Linked DNA regions of Homo sapiens: region 1 is linked to region 2. Evidence: promoter capture Hi-C in 16 types of primary human blood cells and fetal thymus (Javierre and others, 2016). All regions are on one chromosome and are shown on one strand. Each heading gives the region's core, a stretch centred on a gene start or on the middle of the fragment in contact. The rest is flanking DNA. Distances are from core to core; before and after follow the strand shown.

The links. Contacts are between HindIII fragments. The CHiCAGO score rates a contact against its expected background, and 5 or more counts as called.
Region 1: a fragment that was not itself captured here is called in contact with the fragment with the promoter of MAK16 in region 2 in 1 of 17 cell types (non-activated CD4 T cells); the score reaches 6.7 in non-activated CD4 T cells.

What each region holds. Positions count from the first base shown.
Region 1 is chr8:54,098,122-54,102,010 of GRCh38, reverse strand. LYPLA1-TCEA1 (LYPLA1-TCEA1 readthrough) reads left to right here and starts at 64. Exons shown (of 21, transcript NM_001425842.1): 1 at 64-256; 2 at 1,072-1,103. It overlaps LYPLA1 (lysophospholipase 1), which reads left to right and starts at 64. Exons shown (of 9, transcript NM_006330.4): 1 at 64-256; 2 at 1,072-1,103. The coding sequence starts at 188. RefSeq lists a silencer at 1-510. The HindIII fragment of the contact is 1,126 bases long and covers 729-1,854 here.
Region 2 is chr8:33,482,826-33,486,545 of GRCh38, reverse strand. It overlaps MAK16 (MAK16 homolog), which reads right to left and starts at 1,364. Exons shown (of 10, transcript NM_032509.4): 1 at 1,325-1,364. The coding sequence starts at 1,339. RefSeq lists silencers at 1,357-1,544, 1,755-1,944 and enhancers at 1,435-1,584, 1,572-2,208. The HindIII fragment of the contact is 3,746 bases long and covers 1-3,214 here.

The DNA of each region.
Region 1 (3,889 bases), core at 42-2,541, about 21 Mb before region 2:
CGAGGGGCAGGGCAGGGCGGACCCTGGACGCGCGGGCGCGCGCGGAAGGTAGCGCGGGGCCGCGTTGGCGCGCACGCGCCTGAGCGTGCGCCCGGTGGGGCCGGCCGGGACTCGCCGCTCGCACGCCCTTGGGCCGCGGCCGGGCGCCCGCTCTTCCTTCCGCTTGCGCTGTGAGCTGAGGCGGTGTATGTGCGGCAATAACATGTCAACCCCGCTGCCCGCCATCGTGCCCGCCGCCCGGAAGGCCACCGCTGCGGTGAGTGGCGTAGGCGTGGGCTCGGAGGGGTCCACTGGGCCGGCCACCGGTGGTTGCCCCTCGCGCGGGGTGGGCGTTGCGGGCGCGTGGCGGCCTGCGGACGAGGACGCTCCTCCCGGCCCGGGTGGGGTGCGAATGGTCCGCGCGGCCGGGTCCGCGGGGGGCGGGGGCAGCCGGGGGGTCACAGCCGGCGCGAGGGCCAGTCCCCAGCTCCTCCCTGCATTGCGGAGGAAGTGTGGCCCCGGGACCCCCGCGGGCCGGCCTAGGGCACGGCGTCAGCCTCTGCAGCGTGTTTCTGCCTGGTGTGTGGGTGAGGGAAACCTAAGTCCGCCAGGAAATCGCCTTATTGTCACCTCGCACTCTTATCCTCAATGAAAGAAGTTTGAAGATTGAGTGTCCTACAAGGTCAGACGTACTGTTTTTTAGAAAACTCGTGTATGAAAAGTCAAACTTATTTTTGCCTCCGGAAGCTTGCTTTTGCAGTGGAAAAATTCTACAGGATATGTGAGATGTTCCTGATTTCACTTGAAAGAGATAAACTGTTTTTCTTAGAATGTGATCATTTGCACTCAATGTCTAACTGGGACCTCTCAGTGCTACCCCCCCCCCATTCATTATCTCAGGAAATAAAGGGAGAAGTTGATCAGAATTTTTGCCATTTAAAAGAGGTCGATAAAGATTAAGTCGCCGAAGATAGTGTTGTGTAATTCTCTCGTAGGTTTCGTTCCGTTTTCCACCTTAAGCAAAGCTAGTGTGTAACAATCCTGTGTGGGCTTATTTAGGCATTGCTTATTAATTTTCCTCTTCTCTTATAGGTGATTTTCCTGCATGGATTGGGAGATACTGGGTAGGTACCATTATTATTAATAGTAACAGTAATGAAACTGGGTCATGCAACTTTTGTTTACGCGTTCAAAGGTTTAATGTTTAAGGGCGCTAAAATGGTATTTTAAGATTGCCAGTTAATGTATCTTACAGTGCGGTGATTTTATGTTTTGAAAACCCTCAGAATTTTCCCCTTATCATCGTGAGTTTATTGATTTTTTAACTCTGGTTTCTGGAACATATTAAAATTTCAAATTCCTCATTAGTTGCTTTGGGTATTGGATACCAGAGATCCGTGGAATGTTAGTAGGGACGGTGTGCAATTGAGAGCTTTCCAGAGCAGTTAAAATTTCAGAGCAGATTGAAGAGAAGAACTAGTTGATTTTGATAAGAGAACTAGTGGCAACATAAGGCATGCAGCATTCTGAATAGAGGGATTAGATGTTCACTCTAATGAGTTGAAAGGCAGGGGAGGCAACTCAAAGATTTATTTGGAGGCTTATCAAACAATTTGTTGTACTAACTACTTATTTTTATTTTATTTTTTGTTTGTTTGCTTTTTTCTTTTGTTATTATTTTTAGAGACAAGGGCTCTCTCTGTCGCCCAGGCTGGAGTGCAGTTGCAGGATCTTAGCTCACTGCAGCTTTGAACTCCTGGGCTCAAGTGATCCTTCAGCCTCAGCCTCTCAAAGCACAGAGATTAGAGGTGGGAGCTGCCTGAGCCTGGCCTTTTGTACTAACTTTAGATACATGATTTATCTTTTACTCAAGCTTTTTCTATATTGAGATGTTTTTGTTTTTATATTTAAATTGGTGATAATCTGTGAAACTTAAGCAAAATATGAATGTTGTTGAAAAATTGCAGAAATAGAGGAAAACTGAAGATAAATAAATTTTGATAAAGTAGCCCCAGAACGACTAAATTTTCTTTAAAATGAACCATTGGGGCCGGGCGCGGTGGCTCACACCTGTAATCCCAGCACTTTGGGAGGCCGAGGTGGGTAGTTCACTTGATGTCAAGAGTTCGACACCAGCTTGGCCAATATGGTGAAACCCCATCTCTACTAAAAATATAAAAATTACCCGGGTGTGGTGGTGCATGCCTGTAATCCCAGCTGCTAGGGAGGCTGAGAGAAGAGAATCACTTGAACCTGGGAGGCAGAGGCTTCAGTGAGCCAAGATTGCACGACTGCACTCCAGCCTGGGCCACAGAGTGAGACTCAAAAAAAAAAAAAATGCCATTAGGCTAGATTTTTGTTTGTTTGTTTGGAGACAGGGTCTGCTGTGTTGCCCTGGCTGGAGGGCAGTGGCGTGATCTTGACTCACTGCAACCTCCACCTTCTGGGTTCCTGGGTCTCCCGAGTAGCTGGGACTACAGTTGCTTGCCACCATGCCAGCTAATTTTTGTATTTTTAGTAGAGACAGAGTTTTGCCATGTTGGTTACGCTGGTCTCGAACTCCTGACCTCAAATGATCCACCCACCTGAGCCTCCCAAAGTGCTGGGATTACAGGCGTGAGCCACCACTTAAAAGTGATTCCTATTTTTTGCCTAATAAGTCGAGTTATGTAATACAAACTTTGTATGGAGTTACAGAAAAGGTTGCAGCACTCTTTCTGGCAATCCAGTGGTCCTGTGAAAATGATGAACTTATTTTACCAAATGAAACTCGAATAGCAGAATCTCTATTTTATGGCCAAACCTTTCTTGATGTTGCAAGTCAGGGAGAAGGTTGCTATCCTCTAACTTTGCCAATAATGAGCACTTCTATGCCTGAATGATTAGTTCAAGCAAAAAAAAAAAAACTTCAGTCTAGGCAGATTCCACAGACTGAAGCTAAAAGTAAAAATGGTGAAGACTATTAGGATCAAAAATACCAAGAACATCCATTACATCTTGACCAAAAGTTAAGTTTATATTAAAAAAGTATCCTTCTTTTTAACCTGTTGTGATAAAAGAAAAAACAAAGGTCTCCAGTTCTGAAATTATTTGGTGGGATAATGCTAAGGAAAGGCTGACTCTAGATTGGTTCCATGAGTGCATGATGAAACTTCGAACCTGTCAGCCTGACAAGTGGCAATTTAATACTTAAGATATTGTAGTCTCCCCTTACCTGCAGTTTTGCTTCCCATGGTTTCAGTTACCCGTGGTTAACTGTGGTTTGAAAATACTAAATGAAAAATTCCAGAAATACTTTATAAGTTTAAAATTGTACACCATTCTTTTTTATTTATTTTATTATTATTTTTTGAGATGGAGTCTCACTCTGTCACCCAGGCTGGAGTGCAGTGGCACGATCTCGGCTCCCTTCAACCTCTGCCACTCGGGTTCAAGTGATTCTTGTGCCTCGGCCTCCGGCGTAGCTGAGATTACAGGCGCGTGCTACCACGTCCAGCTAATTTTTTTGTATTTTTAGTAGAGATGGGGTTTTGCCATGTTGGCCAGGGTGGTCTTGAACTCCTGACCTCTAGTGATCCACCCACCTCGGCCTCCCGCAGTGCTGGGATTACAGGCATGAGCCACCATGCCTGGCCTGAATTGTACACCATTCTGAGTATTGTGATGAAATCTCATTCCGTCTCACCCAGGACACGAATCATTCCTTTACCTAGCGTATCCATGCTATATCCATTCACCATCTGTTAGTCACTTGGTAGCCATCTGGGTTATCAGGTCAACTGTTTTGGTATTGTTTTGCTTTTTTTTTTGAGACAGAGTCTTGCTCTGTCACCCAGGCTGGAATGCAGTGACACAATCATGGCTCACTGCAACCTCCACTCTCCAGGTTCAAGCAACTCTCCTGCCTCAG
Region 2 (3,720 bases), core at 115-2,614:
TAGGGTCTCTCTGTCACCCAGGCTGGAGTGCAGTGGTGCCATCATAGCTCACTGCAGCCTCGGACTTTTCGGCTCAAGTAGTCCTTCTGCCTCAGCCTTCGAAGTAACTGGGACCTCAGGCGAACACCACCGCGCCCAGCTAATTTTTTATTTTTTGTAGAGATGGAGTCTCACTTTATTGCCTAGGCTGGAATCGAACTCCTGGCCTCAAGCGATCCTCCAGCCCCAGCCTCCCAAAGCGTTGGGATTACAGGCATGAGCCACTGTGTCTGGCTTGAAGCAACCTTTGTCATACCCTAGTCTCCTTGCTTTCATTTTTTCCCTCCAAAAGTCCTTCACACAGCAACTAGACAACTTTTCACAAACATAGATCATTAAAAGGCCTAAAAAACACTTCCTACAAGATTCTGCATGACCTCGCCCTGGCAAGCATATCTAATTTCATTACCTGTCTTACATTGTCACTTTGATGACCCTTATATTCATTCTCTCATATCTTCAACTCTTTGTACTTTACTGTTCCTACTGCCTGGATTGCTTTTTCCTCAGCTCCTCAGTGACTGGCTTATTCTTATCTTTTAGATCTCAACTCAAACATCTTCTGTTCAGAGAAACCTTCCCTGAGTAACCCTATCTGAAGTGTCCTTCATCATCTCTGGTCTTTCTTTCATAGTATGATTATATAGTGTAATTGTTAACTTATTTGTTCACTTGTTTACTGTGTCTCCCCCATCAGTGTTCCAGGAGAGGTGGGACATTTTTTCTGGTTAACCAAATCCTCAATAATTACCACAATGCCTGGCACACTGTAAGCACACTGTTATTTCTCCAACAAAAAACTCAATGAATGAATCTAGGATACTTCCGAAATTATGACTTAGGCAGAAGTAGAGCAAATGTAAAGAAAAGCCTACACAGGAAACGCAGATGGAAGAGTAACGCGCACATGGATGAGAAGGACGCTTAAACTTGGAGTCAGCTTCGCCAAATCCCGGGCCGCCCCCCACCCCAAGTCCGGAGCTGACAGCTGACAGCTGACAGCATGACGCGACGTCCTGCATTGGTAGGCACGAAGGACGGGACACATCGACCCCATGGGCTGAGGTGACGGAGTCCTGTGCTCACAACCCGGCCGGGGCAGCGGGCAGTAAACCCCTGCTAGACACGCGTGAGAACCTATGTTGGAAAATCGGGGTTCCGGAAGCCTCACATCCAGAGCGGCACGAGGCAACAGACCCGCTGCGTACGCGTTTTCTAAGTGTCCGAAAATGGGCAAAATTCCCTGCGCAAACCCCGGGTGTAAGAACAACCGGAGGAGACTCACATCATCCGACTGCATGGTGTCCGCGGCTCAGCGTGCAACTTCCGGTCGGATCGCGGGCGCAGACATGCTCCTTCCGGGAAACCAGTTCCGGAACGCGCAGCCTCACCTATCTCGAGAAACGCTGAGACTCTCGGTGTTGCGAAGCGTCCCCTGGCAGTCTCGTCGCCGCGCGCGCGCCCCCGCGTCTTCACCACGCTGGCGTCTGCGCGCGCCCGTCCGCAATGCTGGGCTTGTTCATGGGCGCAGCCTGGAGCTGGGAACCCTGTTGGGACCCAGTGCGATCCGCGGGAGGCAGGACGCGCGCAGTCTGCCGAATCCTGGAGCGCGGGGACCGCGGGGGTCGGGCGTGCTTCCCTAGCGCCCTGTTTGTGACCGTTCATGAGGATGGGACCCCTCCCTGTCGGGCCTCCCCTCTGCTGGGAGGAGGCTGGGGAAAGCTGCAGGCGGCGCGGCGGGGCTGGGTCCCCGCTCCTCCGAGTCCCCCGGCCCCAGCTCGCAGCCAGGCCCCGGCCCTGCCCCTCAGACCCTGACTTAGCCACTCCCCACGCCCACGTTGGGTGCGGCACCGGGTCCTGACTTTAGAAACTCAGAACTTGAATTCCTCCTGCTTTGAGAAACCACTGACCAAATGGAAAGAGCATTCCAATAATAATAAACACCTGTGTCTTCCTCATTGCCTATTTGAGACAACAAACAAAGTTGATAAGGGAGGGAAAATACCAAGAAGAAAAGTAGAGGTCTAATAACCCACAAAAACAAATCTGGAAGCCTAACAGCTCTTTTCCGCCAGGGGAAAAAGAAAATCTTTACTAGTTTGTATCGTATTATAGAAGAAAGACTGTCGGCCGGGCCGGGCGCGGTGGCTCTCGCCTGTACCTCAGCACTTTGGGCGGCCTAGGCGGGCGAGTTCCAGACCAGCCTGGCCAACATAGTGAAATCCCGTCTCTACTAAAAATACAAAAATTAGTCGGGCGTGGTAGCAGGTGCCTGTAATCCCAGCTACTTGGGAGGCTGAGGCAGGAGAATCGCTTGAACCCGGGAGGCGGAGGTTGCAGTGAGCCGAGATCATGCTGTGGCCCTCCAGCCTGGGTGACAACCAAAACTACCTCTCAAAAAAAAAAAAAGAAAAAGAAAAAAGAAAAGGAAAGAAAGACTGTCAAGAGGCATTTGAACCAGAGCAACCCCATCTTGAATAGTGGCTGGGTAAAATAAGGCTGAGATCTGCTAGGCTGCATTCCCGAGGGTCAGGCCATCTAAATCACAGGATGAGGTCAGCACAAAATACAGGTCATAAGGATGTTGCTGATAAAACAGATTGCAGTAAAGAAGCCAGTCAAGACCCACAAAACCAAGATGGCAATGAGTTTGACCTCTGGTCGTCCTCACTGCTACACTCCCACTGGCGCCACAAATGCCATGGCAACATCAGGAAATTACTCTATATGGTCTAAAAAGGAGAGGCGTAAGTAATCCGCTCCGTGTTTAGCATATAATCAATAAATAGGCTGGGCTTGGTGGCTCACGCCTGTAATCAGCATTTTGGGAGGCCGAGGCAGGTGGATCACCCGAGGTCAGAAGTTCAAGACCAGACGGGCCAACGTGGTGAAACCCCATCTCTACTAAAAATACAAAACTTAACCAGGCGTGGTGGTGGGCACCTGTAGTCCCCGCTACTTGGGAGGCTGAGGCAGGAGAATCACTTGAATCTGGGAGGCAGAGATTACAGTGAGCTGAGATCAAGCCGCTGCACTTCAGCCTGGGCAACAGAGCAAGAATCAGTCTCAAAAAATACATGAACAAATAGCGATAAAAATGGGCAACCAGCAGCCCTCGGTGCCGCTCTGCCTATGCAGTAGCCATTCTTTCATTCCTTTACTTTCTTAATAAGCTTGCTTTCACTTTACGAAACTTATGGACTCACCTCAAATTCTTTCTTGCTTAAGATCCAAGAACCCTCTCTTGGGTCTGATTGGGGACCACTTTCCAGTAACAAGACCATTTTAATAACAAAAGTGTAAGAAGGACACAGTCTCAGTAAGGATGGCGTGTGTCCGGGAGGCCACCCACAGGTCCTAGAGGCTGCCTGTGGCTTCTTGCCACATGGGATTTCTCAACATAGCTCCTTACTTCATCAAGCCAGCAACGAGTTAAATTCCAGTCTGCTAAAACAGAATCTTAAATAATGTTAATCTTAAATAATCTTAAATAATCTTAAAAAATTATGGCAGTGACTTTCCATAGACTTTGCCTTATGCCATTGGTTAGATCAAGTCACAGGTGCCACCCTCACTGGAGGGGAGGAGAAGATACAAGACATGAACACCAGGGAGTGGGACTCACTGGGGTCACCCTAGGGATACCCTGGATTTGACTGCAACTGAAACACATGAGAAATT